Regions from separate parts of the Homo sapiens genome. Here regions 1 and 3 are each linked to region 2. Evidence: promoter capture Hi-C in 16 types of primary human blood cells and fetal thymus (Javierre and others, 2016). All regions are on one chromosome and are shown on one strand. The core of a region is centred on a gene start or on the middle of the fragment in contact, and the rest is flanking DNA. Distances in the headings are between cores, read along the strand shown. Region 1 overlaps ANKRD40 (ankyrin repeat domain 40). Region 2 holds the start of RSAD1 (radical S-adenosyl methionine domain containing 1). Region 3 overlaps LUC7L3 (LUC7 like 3 pre-mRNA splicing factor).

Region 1 (3,315 bases), core at 488-2,987, 220 kb before region 2:
AGCCTGAAGAGGCTTCTTATAGGTTTTTTTTTTTTTTTTTTTTTTTGAGATGGAGTTTCACTCTTGTCACCCAGGCTGGAGTGCAATGCGTGATCTCAGCTCACTGCATCCTCCACCTCCTGGGTTCAAGCGATTCTCCTGCCTCATCCTCCCAAGTAACTAGGATTACAGGTGTGTGCCACCACGCCTGGCTAGTTTTTTGTATTTTTAGTAGAAATGGGGTTTCACCATGTTAGCCAAGCTGGTCTCGAACTCCTGACCTCAGGTGATCTGCCCGCCTCGGCCTCCCAAAGTGCTGGGATTATAGGCGTGAGCCACCGCGCCCGGCCTCTTGTAGATTTAATTGGAGGAACTGTCTAATAGGCCCCTCAAACTCAACATGTCCAAGATTGAATTCCAAGTCTCCCCTCATCCCTCTACCACCTCAAGCCTGCTCCTCTGAGTCCTCAGCCTCTCAGGAGTGCTCAGGCCAGAACCCTTGGCACCCTGCTTGCCTCCTGCTTGCCTCCTGTCTTTCATAGCCGACATCCAGTCAGCCAATTCTATGAGCTCCACCTTCAGATACAGTCAGAATCTGACTACTTCTCACTAACCCTACCACTACACCTCTGATACAAAGCCACCATTGTTTCTCTTGCTTGGATTATTACAATAGCCTCCTACTAGTGTCCTTGCTCCTAAGCTTATATCATACAGTCTTCTTAATTAACACAGTGGTCAGAGGGATCCTGACTTAAAACATAAGTCAGATCATTTCACTCTGCTCAAAAATGGCTCCTATCTCACTCAGTAAAAGCCTACAGGGTCCTACAATTTCTACTTCCTGTCCCCACATCTTCCCTCCTTACCTCTGTGCTAATCTCATGGGATTTGCCCTTCTGCTTACCTTTTTCCCCTGGCCTCCTTGCTTTCTCTGGAATACCAGACAGTCCTGATTCAAGATCTTTGCGTTTTGTCTTCCCACTCTCTTAAATGCTTTCCCTCCAGATATCACATGGTTTGCTTCCTCACCACCTTCAGATTTTAGTTTAGATGTCACCTTCTTGGCAAGGCTTTTCCTGGGCCCTCAATTTAAAGTTGCACAATGCCCCTTTCCAACCTCTGTCATTCCCTAATGCCTTTCCCTGCTTTACTATTGCTGTCATACTTCATCACCACCTAGCGTACTGCGTGCTTTGCTTATTTATTTGCTGATGTCTGTTTCCTCTTCTGTAAAATGGGGGGAATGTTGACAGTAGTATTACCTCATGGGTTTAGAGGATTAAATAAGTTAATACATGTAATGCCTTTAGAACAATGTCCAACACGTAAAGCATTATACCTGTATTAGCCATTGTTGTTGTTTTCTTATTATGAAGCAATATGCTAGATAATGGAATATAAGGTTACCCTCAAAAAAACGTACTCTCTTGCATTTGCAAAGCAGAATGGTGACTGCTTTCAAGTCTTAGTTGCTCAGTAATCACAATTTCAGCACCAATGAGTGATGCCCTGTTGATGAATGACACCCAGTGCCTCAGGTCTGAAATAGTTTCTGACACTAATAAGATATTTTGACTGCAAATGTAAAGCTTAAGGAGTTGAAGTTCAAAGATAGAGTAATCTATCAATTAGATTGATCACTAATCATTCCCCCACATCAGTTGTAATTCAAGTGTCATGCATAACCCTTGGTTCATGAAGAACTTGAAAATATTACCTGGCTGCAGGGGCTCTGAGTTATGGCTGCCCAGAGCCGCACAGCTCTGGACGGTAAATGATGATCACTAAGGCACAGGGCTGTGGGGGCCACGCTATGTTGACTTAACCCTGCTTTACATGGGTGGTAGTTTAGCAAGTTGGTTTGTCCCAGAGTCTCTCAGACCCACTGGTAGTAAATTACCTCCTTTACTCTCAAGCTTGCCACGAACAAGTGATCTACTACTAGCAAGTGAGCATTTTATTTCCAAAAGGGAGCATATTTTTCTCATCATGCTTCATTCATTTTTGAGGGCTCACTTATCATTATAATTGTTCACTTTTTAAGCCTGTGCCACAGACATCCACACACAAACACACTCAAGGTTCCAGTTTGCCCAGAATCAAGGGTAGATTGGATCCTTCTACTTCAAGCAAGGTCCACTTTATCCTTAGTTTACTCATTTGGTACTTTTTTTTTTTTTGAGATGGAGTCTTGCTGTGTTGCCCAGGCTGAAGTGCAGTGGCACAATCTTGGCTCGCTGCAACCTCCACCTCCTGGGTTCAAGCAATTCTCCTGCCTCAGCCTCCCCAGTAGCTGGGATTACAGACATGCACCATCACACTAATTTTTGTATTTTTAGTAGAGATGGGGTTTCACCCTATTGGGCAGGCTGGTCTCAAACTCCCGACCTAAAGTGATCCACCTGCCTTGGCCTCCCTAAGTGCTGGGATTACAGGTGTGAGCCACCGTGCCTGGCCCATTCAGTAAATATTAATTAATACATGCCAAGCAAACACTTCCTTGCCTTCAGGGAGCTTGATCAAGACTCTTCTCTCCCAAACTTAACGAGACTCTTATTTTTCCCAAATTAGCAATAATTTTGTCATTGCATCATGGAATACACCTTAAAGGAACCTGGATAATCTAATTCTAATGAACCATAATGTAGAATGTCACTCTGAGACATCAATGGAATTGCTCCCAGCCAGCCAGACATGCTAACTTTCTGTAAGTTACTAATGTTAAGCCCAGGGCAAATCAGCTTTTTCCTGGAATCATATAAACTTTCCAAATAATTATACTTCCCAGGTTAGTGAACTAACCTTCAATATTGAACATTTGTTCTAATCTTCATTTCTGTATTTGGCTATAAGAGCTCTGAAGATATGTATCTCAGTTCAGTTAGAGAGTTGGTGAAAGAAGACCTTTCAAAACACAGGCGAAAAGTATTTTCCTTCCATAATATACAGTCAGCTCTGGCACCTAGGGATGGATTTAGTTGCTCTGAATCTTTCATTTCTGTTAAGATGGAGTTTTTGCTGGCATGCTAATTATGTTTCTGTACAGTATTAAAATAGTAGCCCTTCAGAGTGTGCAGAATTGCTTCCTCTGTGTACAATATTGAGTGATTAGTTTTACTTAAATGAGTCTGATATGTTAGAAGAACCTGTTCGTGAAGAATTTTGGTTGTTGATGTATATTTTTTAAGTACCTCAGGAATTAAAGTATGTGTGCAGTGCCTTACATTTACGCAGATGAGGATATGTTTGTAGCCTTCTGGAGAGAACTAGAGAAGCCAACTTTTTAAAAATGGAAATTTGGAAATCCTTTGTGTGTGTGTTAAGGAAAGAAAA
Region 2 (3,458 bases), core at 509-3,008:
TCTCCAATCACAAGGAATGACTCACAACTCCCCCAAAACATGCCAGGCTCTTCCATGGCCTGTGTCGTTTCCCCCACACCCCCTCACCTGGTGAACTCTTCCTCTTCATTCAAACATCTCCTCCAGAGAAGTTTCAGTGATTTCATCAGAGTGACCTCCCTTCAGGCTGTACTCTAGAAGCCTTTTATAGAGACCCCCTTTACAGGTGACATTTACCATGCTGCAATAATCTGGCTACATGTCTGCGTCTCCCGTGTCATGTAGCAAATCTTTTTTGACCACCTACTATGTGCCAGGCACTATGGTAAGTGTTTGAAATAGAAAAGCCACACCTGATCCCTTTCTCATAAAGTCTGTGGTCTATGACAGCAGCAGACAATTAAGGAGTTATAAAAGTGTCGCACTAGGCCCTACTGTGTCCCTGGCACCCAGAAGGTGCTCAATCAATGTTTGCCCAATGAATGAATGTGACCAAAGAGGAGATGGCACTGAAGGGCGGGGTGCACTGGGATGGGGTGAGTGCCATGGGTTACCTGGAGGCCTATAGACAACCTGTTAACCCCTGCTGCCCCGAACTCTGCCAGTCTGGAGCCCGGAGCTGAAGTAGGATTAGCCTCCAATGTGACTTCCAAGTCTGCAGGCAGGTGGGCTGCCTGTGCCACAGCCTCCAGGACAGCAGCCACCGTGTGGGGACTGGCTAGACTGGGGGTCCCCCCACCAAAGAACACAGACTCCACCCTGGGGAAAGAGAATGGAGAAATGAGACCTGGGGGAGCCCTCTGGGATGCCTGCACCTATCCCCCACCACTCCTCCAAATATTTCCCAAAACGCTGCCTACAGCCCCCACTACCCACCGTTGCACCCCGCTGAGCCGCAGCAGCGTCTGAGCTTCGGTCACCAGACACTTCTGCATGGCAGCCTCCTCCAGGCGGCGAGGGATGTACTTGTTGAAGTTGCAGTAACTGCAGCGCTTCTCGCAGTAAGGCCACTGGGGGCAGTGAGTGCACGTGCGCGGTGAGAGCTGCCCTGGCCACTTCCAGGGTTCAGTCGCACACACCCCCAACCCCACCCCCACCCCTATCCCGAGGTCTTTCCACAGTAGCTAGGACATCTAAGCCACACAACTCCCCAAGGCAGGTCGCACTGGGGTTATTACATCCACTTCAATGTGAGAAAACTGAGGCTCACTCCTTTGTTACGCTGCCTCTTCCAACCAGCAGACGTCAGGAAGGAATTCAACCCAAGCTCTTTCTGGGATCATATAATTTTCATACAATTTTCCTATGAGCCATTTTCCCAGCTACCGAGTCAGAACACTGCTCTTAAGAAAATTTTGTCTTGCTAAGAGGAAAATTGTTATGAAATTTGAACCATTTGGTCAGAGTCACCGAGCCGGTGAGTAGCAGAGACTTCAGGTTTCTGGACCAAGTCATTTCCCTGCCAAAGCACAGGGTCCCATCCCAGACCTCGTACGGGGGCACGGAAACACGGCAGGCGGGTTCATAGAGTGACAAACCGCCACCTGGGTTTTGGACGGCCACGGTCACGGCCAGGGCTGCGGCCACACACCGTGGGCTCCGCCCCCGCCCCTACTCACGTGTACGTAAAGCGCCGCGCGCCGGCCCGCAGGCTCAGGACTCGGGGACCCTCCTGCGTTCTCCACGCGGCGGCGCCTCTGGGCCGCTCTGGCTGCTGCCGCCCAGCCGCGAGCCCGGGCTCCGGGGAGCGCCATGGCGCCCAGCGCAGCGCGGCGCACTGACCCGAGCAGGAGACGCGCGCAGGGATCACTGTGAGTGCGCAGCCGGCGGAAGGAAGAGGGGCTGCGTGACCGCGCGACAAGAGGGCCCGGGCCCGGGGCTGCGGCGCCACCTGCCGGGCGCCCGGGCGCTCACTGCGGCCTCCTGTCGGTTCTTTCCCCAGGCCGCGAGGCGGGCTGCTTGCCTTTTGGCACCTTGTGCCCGGGCGAGTTCCCGGACCCATCCAGGAGCTCTTAGTTTGTTCAGTCAATTCCTTGACATTTGATGTGCCTGGCTCAGAACTGGGCGCTGGGGACATCTAGGTGCATAAAGCCAGGTTGCATTCTGGCAGGAGAGAGGCAAGCCAACCGGCCAGGACAGGCAAGGCGTATTAATTCCGTGCCTGCTGGACACCAGAGCCGTCCGCCTCAGTGCTGTGAGGTCATCTGTTTTAAGAGTGTGGGAGTCAGTAGGGCAGAAGAGACACTTGGGCTGGATCTTTCTTTTAATTTCATTTACAAATATTTGGGAGAGGGGAGGTCTTGAACTCCTCGGCCTCAAGCGATCCTCCTGCCTCAGCATCTAGAGTAACTAAGGATTAAGGGCATGAGCCACCACCAGGGCTATGCACGGGATCTTGGAGGAGCAGAAAATCCCAGGGGCAATTGGCTTGGCCGGGAGAGTAGACTGTTTTGGGTCAGGCCAACCCAAGCATCTGGAGGTGTACGTGCTGGAAGGACAGTCAGATGGTGTGTGTAGGAGAGAGGGGGAAGGCGCAGGGGAAGGCCTGGGGAAGCAGGCACCTGAACAACTGTCCCACAAAGCAGAAACATCATGGGCTTCAGAGGCAGGCGGTGCAGGACAGTTCTCCCAGTGGCCTTGAACTGACCTGGTTCTCCCCTCCTTTCTTGCTTGTAGTTCTCAAGAATAACTGTAGACGCCTGTAATCCCAGCACTTTGGGAGGCCGAGGCGGGCAGATCACTTGAGATCAGAAGTTCAAGACCAGCCTAGCCAACATGCTGAAACCCCGTCTTTACCAAAAATACAAAAATTATCCAAGCGTGGTGGTGGGCACCTGTAATCCCAGCTACACGGGAGGCTGAGCAGGGAGAATCCCTCGAACCTGGGAGGCGGAGGTTGCAGTGAGCTGAGACAGTGCCACTGCACTCCAGCCTGGGTGATGGAGCAAGACTGTCTCAATAAATAAATAAATAAAACTGTAGAGTGTGCAGAGAATGCAACATCCTGAGGGAAGGAAGGACTGGCCAGCACAGCCATGCTCTGTTCCAGTCCCCCTAGAAAAAGCATGTCCTTCAACACTTCAGCCCAACATGTCACATGGCCCCAGGGTATAAAGCCCAGGGCAGAAGCCGGGCGCGGTGGCTTACTCCTGTAATCCCAGCACTTTGGGAGGCCGATGCGGGCGGATCATAAGGTCAGGAGATTGAGACCATCCTGGCTAACACGGTGAAACCCCGTTTTTACTAAAAATACAAAAAACTAGCCAGGTGTGGTGGTGCGTGCCAGTAGTCCCAGCTACCCGGGAGGCTGAGGCAGGAGAATTGCTTGAACCTGGGAGGCGGAAGTTGCAGTGAGCCCAGATGGCGACACTGCACTCCAGCCTGGGAGACAGAGTGAGACTCTGTATCAAACAAACAAACAAACAAACGAAAAACAGGGCGGGCTGGTTTCTGGGGTCCCTCAGCTTCAGTACAAGTCT
Region 3 (3,319 bases), core at 546-3,045, 250 kb before region 2:
GCTGTGGCTTACACCTCTAATCCCAGCACTTTGGGAGGCCAAGGTGGGCGGATCACTTAAGGCCAGGAGTTCGAGCCCAGCCTGGCCAACATGACAAAACCCCATCTCTACTAAAAATACAAAACTTAGCCAGACATGGTGGTACACGGCTGTAATCCCAGCTACCTGGGAGGCTGAGGTATGAGAACTGCTTGAACCTGGGAAGCAGAGGTTGCAGTGAGCCGAGATGGCACCACTGCACTCCAGCCTGGGCGACAGAGCAAGACTGTCTCAAAAACAACAACAACAAAAAGCAAAACAACAAGTTTATACGGTATTGCAATAAACAATGATGAAAATACACAAGAACCAAGGGATAATTTTTTACTGTGATATGCAATTTACTTTAGACACCAACTGCTCATGCAGAGATTATCAAGAGTCACAGGTCATAGGGCATTTTAAGTGGAGCCTGGCAACACTTGAGCTCACTGTAATAGCAACAGGTGGCTACAAAATTATTACAGTATTACAGTATGTACTATAGTTAATTTTATGCAGTTATTACTCAAGCTTTACTTTCTCTGGACTGCTAGTGGCACCATGTACTGTGTGCATAAGTTTTTATAAAGTTTAACTTTTTATGATTCGTATGTATTTTGTGGTAGGAAAATGATAAACTAGTATATACATCTATTTTATGTATTTGTGATGTACTTATCTTTTCTTAAATTTTAAAAATATTTCTAAGCTATGTGATTCGTCTTCAAGTTTTTTCAAATTGTTGCAAATCTCCAAAAAATGTTCCAATATATTTATTGAAAAAACTCCACGTATAAATGGACACACTCAACTCAAACCCGTGTTGTTCAAGGGTCAATTTTACTTTTCCCAATGGTAGGATTTATCATATTCTGTTATGGAAATGCGTTTACATTCAATTGGAATAATCCCCATTGGAAAAAAAAAGTGCATTTACTGTCACCAATACATGATGGCTCTTTAGGACCAAGTGCTGTATCTGTACTATCCTGCTGTTATCTACCTAAGAGCAATACTTTTAATTTTTTTTTTGAAATGGAGTCTTGCTCCTGTCACGCAGGCTGGAATGCAGTGGCGTGATCTCGGCTCACTGCAACCTCCACCTCCCGGGTTCAAGCGATTCTCCTTCCTCAGCCTCCCGAGTAGCTGGGATTACAGGCGTGCGCCACCACACCTGGCTAATTTTTGTATTTTTAGTAGAGACAGGGTTTCGCCATGTTGGCCAGGCTGGTCTCAAACTCCTGAGCTCAGGTGATCCACCCGCCTCAGCCTCGCAAAGTGCTAGGATTACAGGCGTGAGCCACCGCTCCCAGCCGAGCAATACATTTTTGTTGGATAAATGAATACAACAATTTTCCTAACTTACTATAAGAAATGAAGAGAAAGGCTGGGCATGGTGGCTCACCCCTGTAATCCCAGCACTTTGGGAGGCCGAGGGAGGATCACTTGTTGTCAAAAGTTCAAGACCAGCCCGGCAAACATGGTGAAACCCCATCTCTACAACAACACAAAAATTAGTCAGGCATGGTGGCATGCACCTGTAATTCCACCTACTCTGGAGGCTGAGGCAGGAGAATCGCTTGAACCCGGGAGGTGGAGGTTGCAGTGAGCTGAGATCACACCACTGCACTCCAACCTGGGCAACAGAGCAAGACTCCATCTCGGGGGTAAAAAAAAAAAAAAAAAGAGAAAATATTTCATAAAACGAAGAACTGTATTAGCAAAAAAGTCAAATTTACAAACTTAAGCTACCTTCTCCTTTTGTGAGGAAATCAAGGCTAATAACATATATAATGACACACACACACACACACACACACACACACACACAATTTTCCTAAAGCAACCAAAGATTTACGAAATACCTTACTATAATTTTCAGTGATTATGGTATTGTGGTTATTTTATTCTATTTTTTTTTTGAGACAGAGTGTCACTCTGTTGCCCAGGCTGGACTGTGGTGGCACCATCTCGGCTCACTGCAACCTCTGCCTCCTGGGTTGAAAGGATCCTCCTGCCTCAACCTCCAGAGTAGCTGGGATTACAGGAATGCACCACTACGCCCAGCTAATTTTTTTATTTTTTATTAGAGACAGGGTTTCACCATGTTGGCCAGGCTGGTCTCGAACTCCTGGCCTCAAGTGATCTGCCTGCCTTGGCCTCCCAATGTTGAGATTACAGGTGACCCACCATGCCCGGTCGGCTATGTTTTTTTTTTAAAGTCCTTGTATTTTACAGATATACAATGACCGCTTTAAGGTTGACAATAACAGAATTGCTTCAAAATAATGGAAGGGATACAGAGGAAATAATATTGACTATGTGCTAATATTGCTAAATTGGGCATGGGTACATGGGGAGTTCAATTTATTATACTATTCACTCTAATTCTGTATGTTTTGGGAAGAAAAGCAAATAGCAATTACATACACATATAACACATGGACTGCTGGCAATTCTGAGAAGCCAACACTTACTATTTTACTATGGAGTAAGGTAGGAAATGCCAGCCGGGCGCAGTGGCTCACGCCTGTAACCTCAGCACTTTGGGAGACTGAGGCGGACCGATCACTTGAGGTCAGGAGTTCAAGACCAGCCTGGCCAATATGGCAAAACCCTGTCGACTAAAAATACAAAAATTAGCCGGGCGTGGTGGCCCACACCTGCAATCCCAATTACTCGGGACGCTGAGGCCAGGAGGTGGAGGTTGCAGTGAGCCAAGATCATGCCACTACACTCCAGCCTGGGTGACAGAGCTAGACTCTGTCTCAAAAAAAAAAAGGGGGGGGGGCAGGGAGCAGGGTAGAAAATGCTTTTCTATCTTACTCCATAGTAACATAGTAAGTTACTATGAACATTTTGGTGACTCTGAATGAAAACTAGTAAAATACATATTAATAGATGCCATCATGCATTATAATTACTAGTTTTTTGCTTTCAATTTTTGCTCCCAAATTCTGAACATTTTTAAAGCAAAAAGAAAAAGTATACAAGTAAAAAATGTGGACAGAAGCTTTAGCTATTTTTCCTTTTCTAAACAACTTTTCAGTGTCAATGACAGTATCTGCTAACATTCCAAAGATTTTAGAAAAGAACATAGTTCAATTTCCTTCATAAATTATTAAACCTTCATGTTAAACCTTCATGGAAGGAAGGGTAGGCTTGAGTTTGATAAATGGAAGAAAACTCATTTCAGATATTAGAATCAGTGTTAATGATTAAGTAATTTCATTTTCAGGTTGAGATCTAGAATATAAAAACCTCAATTTGAACTACAAAATTTCTGTCTTGCTACATA

Evidence for each region. Contacts are between HindIII fragments. The CHiCAGO score rates a contact against its expected background, and 5 or more counts as called.
Region 1: a contact is called between a fragment that was not itself captured here and the fragment with the promoter of RSAD1 in region 2, in 4 of 17 cell types (megakaryocytes, M1 macrophages, M0 macrophages and 1 more). The highest score is 8.6, in megakaryocytes.
Region 3: a fragment that was not itself captured here is called in contact with the fragment with the promoter of RSAD1 in region 2 in 4 of 17 cell types (M0 macrophages, M2 macrophages, M1 macrophages and 1 more); the score reaches 8.5 in M0 macrophages.

The regions. Positions count from the first base shown.
Region 1 is chr17:50,701,247-50,704,561 of GRCh38, reverse strand. The region is part of intron 1 of ANKRD40 (ankyrin repeat domain 40); the gene reads left to right. Among named protein-coding and RNA genes, the nearest start is that of ANKRD40, 5.0 kb to the left of the region's middle. The HindIII fragment of the contact is 327 bases long and covers 1,574-1,900 here.
Region 2 is chr17:50,477,160-50,480,617 of GRCh38, reverse strand. It overlaps RSAD1 (radical S-adenosyl methionine domain containing 1), which reads right to left and starts at 1,758. Exons shown (of 9, transcript NM_018346.3): 1 at 1,599-1,758; 2 at 856-989; 3 at 534-738. The coding sequence starts at 1,733. RefSeq lists silencers at 545-931, 1,503-1,992. The HindIII fragment of the contact is 15,448 bases long and covers 1-3,458 here.
Region 3 is chr17:50,723,145-50,726,463 of GRCh38, reverse strand. The region is part of intron 1 of LUC7L3 (LUC7 like 3 pre-mRNA splicing factor); the gene reads right to left. Among named protein-coding and RNA genes, the nearest start is that of LUC7L3, 5.2 kb to the right of the region's middle. RefSeq lists an enhancer at 1,029-1,528. The HindIII fragment of the contact is 2,482 bases long and covers 555-3,036 here.